Linked DNA regions of Homo sapiens: region 2 is linked to region 1. Evidence: promoter capture Hi-C in human tissues and cell types (Jung and others, 2019). All regions are on one chromosome and are shown on one strand. The core of a region is centred on a gene start or on the middle of the fragment in contact, and the rest is flanking DNA. Distances in the headings are between cores, read along the strand shown.

Region 1 (5,656 bases), core at 402-2,901:
TCGTGGTCATGGGGTTCCGTCGTTGACAAACCAAGGCTCAACCGGGGCTGCTGGCTGGAGCTCCATGCTCCTGCCCCCAAAGCTATGCCCAGATCCCCATCCCACCTCCCAGCACCCTGCGTGCCATCTGCCTCCTCCACCCCTAGGCATTCTCCCATGGAGGAGAGAAGCACTCCACTCTGTGTGAGCCCTTGTGTTTTCATCAGAGTTCAAGGCCAGGGTCAAGGGTCCATCTTCTCCCAAACCACCTTGCTGGCTTTTAGTGTCCACCTTCCTTAAGGAGTAACAGTCACAGAGAAGGGACCAGCAAGGAGTGAAGCCCTGTTCTGAGCCTCGGAAGGGAGCGGCTGGGAAGCAGTCCTCTGGCAAGGACATCTGAGGGCCTACTAGTTTGACCCCTTCTTTCCAGAATCTCCAGTGGAATGGCACTGATGACTGAGGGTCTGGGGGGTCTACCTCTGCCCCTTGCCAATAACCGTGGGCACCTGCAAAGCTCTCACCTGGTGCCAGGCACTGCTCTGAGTGCCTTGCGCATACACGCTTTTCACACCGCCTGGGGAGGAAGGTACGATTATGACCCTCGTTTTACAGGTGAGGAAAGGGAGGCACAGAGAGGTTAAGTGACTTTCCCAAGGTCATTCAGTGAGTGGCAGAGCTGGGGTTTGAGCCCAGGAAATCTGCCTCAAGTAGCTGTTTTGCCTCAATAAATAATACTAACAACAACCACAGCTACCATTTGACGACCCGTTCCTATGTGCCTAGTGCTTTAATTCCTCAGAGCAATGCTGTGACTTAGGCGTTGTTCTCCGAATTTCTCATTTCACAGATGAGTAAATCCCGGTTTAGCAGGGCGCCTGGAGTGAGGTGACTGCGGAGGCTCGCAGACGTTAGGTCTGCCTAAATCCGAAGCTTCCACCCTCCTCTGCCTCTGTGACTTGCTGCGTGACTTTGGAGCTTTCGGAAACTCAGTTTCCCTGTCTTAAGCCCTCTGCTCCTCTTGCTTTCCCGCTCCAGCAAGTGAGAGTGGACTGGGTTGCCGTGCCGGGCGGGTGTGGGTCGCCGGGCAACTCCGGAGTCTCCCCTTCCCCATCGGCCCCCAGCAGAAGTCCCAGCTCCCGGCGTTTTCTGTCTCGTGGCGAGTTGGGGCGGAGGGAGCGGCGGGAAGGTGCCGGGTGGGCAAGGTCGGAGCTGCGTCACCGAGAGGCCGGCAAGGCCAGGGAGAAAAGGCCCCGCTGTGATTTGGGGAAGGGCCGGGGGCCCATAAGTCACGTGCTCGGGGCGGTTGTGCAGGAGCGGACTGTCCTCTGGGAACATAGAAGCGCCCCCGACTAGAGTAGGGGCGGGGAGGGAGCGCCGGAGGAGGCAGGTTCTGGGCCAAGGGGATGGGGGTGGGGGGGAGGTAGGGAGCCCGCGGACAAAGGAGGCGGCCGGCGGCCCAGCTGTTTTGAAAAATGCTTCCTGTTTCTTTAAAGGCGCTCGCGGCTCGGGCGGCCCGGGCTGGGGAGGCGGTGGCGGCGGGAGCTGCCTCCTCTCCGGGCGGCGGCGCTGACTGATCTCGCGAACTGGGCTTCTGTGTAAACTGAGGCTAAACAAACACAGATGGAGCGCAGCGGGCGTTCTCCAGAAATGCTGGCAAGGAGGCAGCGACTTCAGATGACACTCTGAGCGCTCCGGGAACGGACAGCCCGGCGGCTTCCCGAAGCCGGCGGCGCAGCTGCCCGGGGCGAGGGGGAGAAAGGGAGAGAGGGAGGGGGAGGGCGGGCGAAGCGGGAGAGCCAGAGACTCCTCGGCGCTGAGCGCGGCGGCGGCCCGGGCAGCCCCACGCCCCTGCCTCGCGCGCCGCCCGCGCCATGAAGCACATCCCGGTCCTCGAGGACGGGCCGTGGAAGACCGTGTGCGTGAAGGAGCTGAACGGCCTTAAGAAGCTCAAGCGGAAAGGCAAGGAGCCGGCGCGGCGCGCGAACGGCTATAAAACTTTCCGACTGGACTTGGAAGCGCCCGAGCCCCGCGCCGTAGCCACCAACGGGCTGCGGGACAGGACCCATCGGCTGCAGCCGGTCCCGGTACCGGTGCCGGTGCCAGTCCCAGTGGCGCCGGCCGTTCCCCCAAGAGGGGGCACGGACACAGCCGGGGAGCGCGGGGGCTCTCGGGCGCCCGAGGTCTCCGACGCGCGGAAACGCTGCTTCGCCCTAGGCGCAGTGGGGCCAGGACTCCCCACGCCGCCGCCGCCGCCGCCTCCTGCGCCCCAGAGCCAGGCACCTGGGGGCCCAGAGGCACAGCCTTTCCGGGAGCCGGGTCTGCGTCCTCGCATCTTGCTGTGCGCACCGCCCGCGCGCCCCGCGCCGTCAGCACCCCCAGCACCGCCAGCGCCCCCGGAGTCCACTGTGCGCCCTGCGCCCCCGACGCGCCCCGGGGAAAGTTCCTACTCGTCAATTTCACACGTAATTTACAATAACCACCAGGATTCCTCCGCGTCGCCTAGGAAACGACCGGGCGAAGCGACTGCCGCCTCCTCCGAGATCAAAGCCCTGCAGCAGACCCGGAGGCTCCTGGCGAACGCCAGGGAGCGGACGCGGGTGCACACCATCAGCGCAGCCTTCGAGGCGCTCAGGAAGCAGGTACCCGCTCGCCGCCGCACGCCCTCACTGCGCCGGGGGACGACTGCGGGAATGGGTGGGCGAGTGGCCGGGGCGGGATAGAGGTGTGTTTAAGGGGCAAGCTGCCCCGCCCGGTCCGACCCTGGTGCCCAGACAGGTGTGGGCAGTCCTAGGGTATGGATCATAGTTTTCAAAGTGGCTATAAGAGTTGGTTATCTCTGGCCCGAGCACCCCCCGCCCTCAACCCCCGCCTCGGGGGTAACGCTGTCTGCGCTTCTGACTTCAGCCTCCATAGTTCACTTTTATGGCAGCGAGTATTTGCCTGCCGGAGTCCCCTGGGCGCGGTGCGGAGTGGAGAGGGGAAATGTGGGAATCTGTCAGCGGAGGAAGGGGGGAGCCTTCTCCAGTTGGTGGTGGCAAGGTCCGGAACGCTGCGGTGGGACAGTCCGGGGGAGTTGTCAGCCCCTCTTCAGGCCCCAGCGGTGATGCCCCGAACACTCAGGTTGCTTCCGGGCTATGCACTCCTTGCCCTGGCATCCTCAAGAACCCGCGCTACAAGCCTGTGCCCTCTCCCCAGGGGTGGGCTCAGGAATCGGCTGGTGGGAGTCTTTCTAGCAGATCCCTTCCTTTCACCCGTGGTGAAGCAGGCAGCTCTGCCGAGGGGACTGCCTAGGTTGGGGATTCCCTCTGGAGCATCTTCAGAGCCTAGTTCTGGGGTGGGTCCGGGACTTTTTAGTTTGGGGCTGGTGCGGGCTGCCCTCACCAGACAGTGCCCCTGCGCAGGTAGCGGAAGAATACTTAACCCAAGAATTACCCGTGGTGGGGCGGGACAATCGCTTGGGCTTCTAGGCTTCTTATTTTCTTAGCGAGAAGGAGCTCTAGGAAGGAGGTGGTGAGTTCTCTCCCACCCCCACACAGGGCGTGGGGAAGGGTTAGGGTAGATGTGGCTGGTTTGAAGGGTGTTTTTTTTTTCTTTTTATTTGCATACTCTGCAGCTGACTTGCTGTGTGACTCCAGGAATGTTGCTCAACTTCTCTGGGCTTTATCCAGCAACAAAACATTTCAGAAACCATGATCTTCTTTTTGGATCACTCTCCTCTTCCTGCTGGGGGTTGGGGTGGGGTGGGGCAGTAGTGCCTGTGTCCATCCATGGAAAGGAAATTGAATCCTTGGAGGAAAGAGGCCCTATGACTTTTGAGCCAAAGTGTCTTGCTTGGGCTTGGGGAAAGTGGTCAGTGAGGTGGGGTGGGGGTGGGGGTGGGGGACGGGTGGCTGTCACAGACCAGGCTGGGCCTCTGCCCTCATCCACACCAGCTGGAACCCTGGGCGGTGGGTCCAGTGGAGCAGTCAGTCCCACCCTGAGCCAGCAGCTCTGTGTCTGCATCGCTGGGTAGAGGTGGCGGTGCGTGGGGGATCCTGCAACCCACTCCCCAGGACAGAAGGATAACAGAAGGGCAGAGAGATGCCTGTCCACCTGCCCACCTTGCCACTAGGGAAGCCCCTCCTAGACTGGGGAGGCACGTGCCCAGAGCCTCATAGCTGTTGAGTAGCAGGTCAGGGCTGGCACCTAGGGGCTTTGACTGCAGGTTCTGGGCCCTTGTGCTCCTCTATTGCCTCTGTATGCTGAGAGAATACTCATCTGAGTGCTTTGTTACATCTCATGTGCCCACTGACTTTTACTTCATTCAACAATCAATTCCATCTCATTTGATCTAAACATAATCCCTGTCGAAATTGGATTAACTCATTTTATAGTATGGAACACTGAGGCCCAGAGATGGAAGGAGACTTGTCCAAGGTCACCTAGTGGGTTAGGGAAGATAACAGCAGTTTCTGGAATGCCCTCCTGGCCAAATGCTTCCCACAGTGCCATCTGTATCAGCGTCATGTGCCACCCCCCCAGCCCCCAGCCTGTGATGTTTGTTAACAATCAAGGCAGGGTGCACACTTGGCAGACCCTTTGAGATGAGATTGTTCATCCTGGTCTCCTTTTACTTCCCCCCTTACCGTGGGAAGTTCTCTATAAAAAGGGCAAGTTCAGTGTATCTAAGTAGAAGGCACACCCATGCCCTCTCAGGGAGAGCGTGTGTATGCAATGCAAACACACAGGCAGGTACACACACACATGCTCCTTACACGTGCTCAAGAGCACACACAAATGCATGGTCACAGAAGCACCTGTTCCTGTTTGTTTCCTCCTTGCCCTAGCCATTCTGCCCCTTCCCCAGAAAGGCTGCCAGGCCATAGTGGGCACCTGCCTGTTAGCTGGGAAGGAAAGAAATACAGCCAGGACGTTTCTGGTCATAGAACCAGGGGCCAAGGCCACACCCACCATGTCCTCCTCACCACCATGGCACCCATTCGATAGAGGAAGTCCTGTGTTCTGGAGGAGCCCCTTCCTCCTCTGGGCCTCAGTCTTCTCTGTAAAATGTACTCCGCACCCCCTCCCCGAATCCAGACGAGCTGCAGCTCTGGAGCTAGGCTCGGGCCTGACTGAAATGGGTCCTTGGAAATGGACAAAAGGCAGATCAGCTCCGCCTGAAATGGGGCCTTGGCCAGTGTGGCACTGAGATGGGTTCTGGGATTGTGGCTCTGGCCTGGGGCTTCATTCTCCTGAGCAGCTTCCTGGTACCATGAAAGAAGCACTGATCTGGGAAACTGGAGGCCAGGCATTGAGTTGTTCCTCCCCTGCATGCCTTCTGTGTGGCTGTGGACAAGTCACTGACCCTTTCTGGGCCTCAGTTGCTGAAGTTGTAAAATGGTAATATTGCTGACCTCATCCAGTGTTGAGAAGAGAAAGTGAGGAAAGGTAGGAGGCCTATAAGAGCAGTGAACATTTCTTTCATTTCATTTTTTTTTTTTTTTTTGAGACAGAGTCTCTTTCTGTTGACCAGGCTGGAGTACAGTGGTGTGATCTCAGCTCACTGCAAACTCCACCTCCCAGGTTCAAGTGATTCTTCTGCCTCAGCCTCCCGAGTAGCTGGGATTACAGGTGCGCACCACCACACCTGGGTAATTTTTTGTATTTTAGTAGGGATGGGGGTTTCACCATGTTGCCC
Region 2 (5,157 bases), core at 531-3,030, 240 kb after region 1:
TCTCCCTATTCCATGGGCCTGCTGCCCCAACCCATGGGGGACGGTAGACCCCCAGGGATATCACCATTTCTGCGCTGGGATGCTGGATCAGGGGTGAGCAAGAGGTCTACCCCTGCTGATTGACCCACCAAGCATAGTGTTAAGCTGCCCCCATGCCTTCCACACCTTAAAGAACTCACAGTCTTGGGTAGTATTTCTCAAACTCTGAGTACCATCTTCCCATATTTCGCTACAGGTACTATCATTTACTTAATACTTTTATTTTTTAGAAGGGGTCTCACTCTGTCGCCCAGGCTAGCGTGCAATAGTGCCATCATAGCTCACTGCAGCCTCAACCTCCAGGGCTCAGGCGATCCTCCCACCTCAGCCTCCAGAGTAGCTGGGACTACAGGCATGTGCCACCAGGTCTGGCTAATTATTAAACATTTTTTAGAGACAAGAACTTGCTTTGTTGCGCAGGCTGGCCTCAAACTCCTGGCTTCAAACAATCCTCCTGACTCAGCCTCCCAAAGTGCTGAGATGACAGGCATGAGCCACTGTGCCCAGCAAATACTTAATATTTTTCTTTAGAGTAACTAATTTTTTTACCTGCAGTAAGTTTGCTCCTAAGGGAGTCTATGTACCCCTGTGCAATTATCTTAATAGATGGAATGTGATAATCACATATTTTTCTAATGCACATCAAAATCAATACTAAACTATTAAAATGTTTAAAATGCCTGTTCACATATCACCAAACGGCATCTCGTGGGCCAGCCCTGGAATGAGCTGCCTTCAGGGAAACACTGATTATATTGAGGAGGTTTGACTTACACAATGTGCAAGGATAATTATAACATAAAGCAGGGCTGGTCATGTTTGAGACCAGTGTGAGGCCCTCACTTAAAAGGCCTCACGTTTGGGGTTTAATGCTCTGAGTTGATTATCTTGAATGTTTTTTACCCTGAGATGGAGTTTCGCTCTTGTTGCCCAGGCTAGAGGGGAATGGCAAAGTCTCGGCTCACTGCAACCTCCGCCTCCCAGGTACAAGCAATTCTCCTGTCTCAGACTCCCAAGTAGCTCAGATTACAAGCACCTGCCACCATGCCCGGCTATTTTTGTATTTTTAGTAGAGACAGTGTTTCACCATGTTGGCTAGGCTGGTCTCAAATTCCTGACCTCAGGTTATCTACCCGCCTTGGCCCCCCACAGTGCTGGGATTACAGGCGTGAGCCACTGTGCCTGGCTTATCTTGAAATTTTTAATGATTTTCTCTTTGAGTTTGTGTTTTGTGAGTCGATGAGAGGATGAGGCGTGTGCTGGTGGTTTGGGCCTTGGCTTACGTGCCATCATGCCTTCTGCACCCTTCCAGGATGGGGTCTAGAGCATCACAGTCAGTAATGAGCCAAAGCTGGGTGACTAAATGAACAAATCAACTAATGAAAACATGGACACCCAGGAGCCTGAGCTTCTCCTTTTAAAATTTTGTTAAGTAGGACTGTTACTGATTAACCAGTTCACTCAAGATTAATGTATACACATTTTAGAAAAAATGATTAAAGAAATTAATTCCTTTAAAATATGTAGGCGGTGGCTCACACCTATAATCCCAGTACTTTGTGAGGCCGAGGTGAGTGGATCACTTGAGGTCAGGGGTTCTAGGCCAGCCTGGCCAACATGGTGTTTGTGTCTACTACAAATACAAAAATTAGCTGGGCGTGGTGGCGCATGCCTGTAATCCCAGCTACTCGGGAGGCTAAGGCAGGAGAATCTCTTGAACCTGGGAGGTGAAGGTTGCAGTGAGCTGAGATCGCGCCACTGCACTCCAGCCTGGGCGACAGAGCGAGGCTTTTTCTGAAAATAAATAAATAAATAATAAAATAAAAGATATAGAAGCTTGTTTTGGAATAACCTGCCTGCCCACTTTTTTGGGGCCTTTTTCTGACCAGGAAGTTCAGGCATGTGACCTGGAGACAAGCAAATGTACCACGTGATGTGAAGTGAACTCTCAGCCAGCCTTGGGCTTCCTTAGCCTGGGGACTGCATCCTCCAGGTGGTCTGAGATGACACTCTGTGACATGCATTTCTCAGGGTTTACCTTGTAGGGCTATGTGACTAGCAACTAGCAAGTCATACCCTTGGGAGGCCCTGGGTGAATACATGGCCAAATATTTATCATCAAAAGTTGCCAGCCCTTAGAGAAATGGCCTCCGTCTTCATCTTTCAATCAAATGTCACTTTATCAAACAACAGAGCCACAACATTTTTAAAAGGACAAAGACTGAAACGTCACCCATGACAAACATTTTGGAAACAAGATTTTCTAAAATGGAGAAAATAGAGGAACACATAGTTCGTGGTCATAGGCTGGCCACACCACCTGCCACTTCATTAGTCTTTGCCTGGGGACTTTTTGTTTCCTGATAATCATTAATATATATTTTTATGGGTTGTTTACTGGCTACATTTAATAGATGACAAAAAGGACAGTCTGAATATGTTGTTTTCCATCAACTGGAACATACCACTCACGTTTTCCGTATTTTGTATGAGAATCTTCATTCTGAAGTTTTGCAGTAAGCATTTTGAGTGAATGGACACATTTTAGGACTGACCACATAAATCAAGAGATGGATGTACATTCTTATTTCATTTTATTTTTTAGTTTTTAATTTTTTTTAGACAGAGTCTTACTCTGCCATTCAGGCTGGAGTGCGGTGGCAAGATCTCAGCTCACTGCAACCTCTGCCTCCCAGGTTCAAGCAATTCTCCTGCTTCAGCCTCCCGAGTAGCTGGAATTACAGGTGCGCACCACCACACCTGGCTAACTTTTTTGTATTTTTAGTAGAGACAGGGTTTCACCATGTTGGCCAGGCTGGTCTCAAACTCCTGACCTCAAATGATCCACCTGCCTCGGCCTCCCAAAGTGCTGGGATTACAGGTGTGAGCCACCATGCCCGGCCAGCATTCTTATTTTAGAAGTCAAAAATTCACACATCATTTTGCTTTCCAGATACACTCGGTGTTTCCAGTTCTTAGTACATTCTTCCAGATTTCGTCTGTGTTTCTGTGCAAGTGTGTGGCCAAGTGTGCGCATACCCACACTGTGCTGTCTGTTACTCACTGTGCCTCTTTCACTTGACTCTACCTGGGACATCTTTTCTCGTCAGTTCATAAAAATCTGTCTGATGAGAGGACTTTTTAAGATGACTCATCAGGCCAGGCGCAGTGGCTCATGCCTGTAATCCCAGCACTTTGGGAGTCTGAGGCAGGTGGATCACCTGAGGTCAGGAGTTCGAGACCAACCTGGCCAACATGGCGAAACCCCGTCTCTACTAAAAATACAAAAATTAGCTGCGTATGGTGTCAGGCACCTGTAATCCCAGCTACTTGGGAGGGTGAGGTAGGAGAATTGCTTGAACCTGGGAGGCGCAGGTTGCAGTGAGCTGAGATCGTGCCATTGCACTCCAGCCTAGGCAACAAAAGTGAGACTCCATCTCAAAAAAAAAAAAAAAAGACGACTCATCAGACACATTTTTGGGTCAGGCTCAAATGAAGTTCATGATTGCAAGGGTATTCTAGACTGACCCAAAGATTTTCTCCCCAACACCAAAAACTGGAAAACAGCCTGACAGTCATTAATTCCTGAGGGAACAGCTGACTCTTCTGAGACCATCTACTCTCTGCCCACAACCTCTCCTGCATACCCCAGCTGTGGCTCTGCTATTCATCCCAAATGTCCTGGCCAGGCCCACCCACTTGGCCAAAAAGTTGACTTCCCAGCCAGACCTGGTTGATCAATTGGCCACTATCCTTACAGGAAAAGTCTGAGTTATGAGAAAAAAAAAACTAATTTCTTCCAAAATATAAAAAGAAAACTGCATGATCAAAGTGAATAAATGTTTAATTAAATGCCTGCAAAGTGGAACACTATGTCAGCTTCCTTAATTGATACATTCAGTATTTTTAAAAATTTCATTACATTTGCAAAACAAATTGAAAGTAGCATTTCCTCCTTTGCAAGAATTCTTGAGGAGTGTGTGGTGATTGCCAAGAAATAACAAGTTGCTCATGTACTATTATTTTAAAAAGAAAAATTATCAAAACCATTTAAAAATATTTTGCAATATTAAAAATACACATGATCCTGATCTGATCACTATACATTAAATGTATCAAATCATCACTATGTATTCCATAAATATGTGCAATTATTATGTGTCAATTAAAAATAAACAAATAAATAATACACATATGTGTGCATATATGTGTATATACATACATATACTCAGTGTGGGCTGTTTGATGTGTTATTGGAACAAGGTCTTTAAAAGTAAGCTGAGGGGCACTTTGGGAGGCTGAGGCAGGCGGATCACAAGGTCAGGCAATCGAGACCATCCTGGCTAACATGGTGAAACCCCCTCTCTACTAAAAATACAAAAAATTAGCCGGGCGTGGTGGTACGCGCCTGTAGTCCCAGCTACTCGTGAGGCTGAGCTAGGAGAATCACTTGAACCCAGGAGGCGCAGGTTGCAGTGAGCCGAGATCATGCCACTGCACTCTAGCCTGGGTGACAGAGCAAGACTCCATCTCAAAAAAAATAAAAAAAAATTAAAAAATTAAAAAAGAAGCTGAGGGGCTGGGCGTGGTGGCTCACGCCTGTAATTACAGCACTTTGGGAGGCCATGGTAGATTAATCAGTTGATGTCAGTAGTTCCAGACCAGCCTGACAAACATGGTGAAACCCTATCTCTACTAAAAATACAAAAATTAGCTGGGCATGGTGGAGGGCACCTGTAATCCCAGATATTGGGAAGCTAAGGCAGGAAAATCACTTGAACCCAGGAGGCAGAGGTTGCAGTGAGCCCAGATCGCGCCACTGCACTCCATCCTGCGTGACAGAGCAAGACTCCATCTCAAAAAAAAAAAGTAAGCTGAGGGCTCAAGGGCCACACAGGTCTTCAAGAGGCCCAGCCCGGGATCCGCACACCCGAGAACCCTGTGCTGAGTCAGGATCCCCTTCTGTGGACACAAGATAGGAGTGGTGCTGTCAAGAGGAAGTTCTAAAAATAGACCCTAACATGTAGGGCAGAATATTAGTGGTTCTGAGAACTAGCAGAATCAGAGGCAGAAATGAGACATGTGACCAAAATGAAACCCCACAGCCCAAAGGGTATC

Evidence for each region. The method cuts DNA at HindIII sites, captures the fragments that hold promoters and counts their contacts. A contact is called where the count stands out against the background at its distance.
Region 2: a contact is called between a fragment that was not itself captured here and the fragment with the promoter of ATOH8 in region 1, in 1 of the 25 tissues and cell types used here (liver).

What each region holds. Positions count from the first base shown.
Region 1 is chr2:85,752,340-85,757,995 of GRCh38, forward strand. ATOH8 (atonal bHLH transcription factor 8) reads left to right here and starts at 1,652. Exons shown (of 3, transcript NM_032827.7): 1 at 1,652-2,618. The coding sequence starts at 1,851. The HindIII fragment of the contact is 12,393 bases long and covers 1-3,405 here.
Region 2 is chr2:85,989,108-85,994,264 of GRCh38, forward strand. The region is part of intron 2 of LOC105374843 (a long non-coding RNA gene); the gene reads right to left. Among named protein-coding and RNA genes, the nearest start is that of ST3GAL5-AS1, 100 kb to the left of the region's middle. RefSeq lists a cis regulatory region at 4,771-5,157 and an enhancer at 5,025-5,157. The HindIII fragment of the contact is 4,251 bases long and covers 1-3,906 here.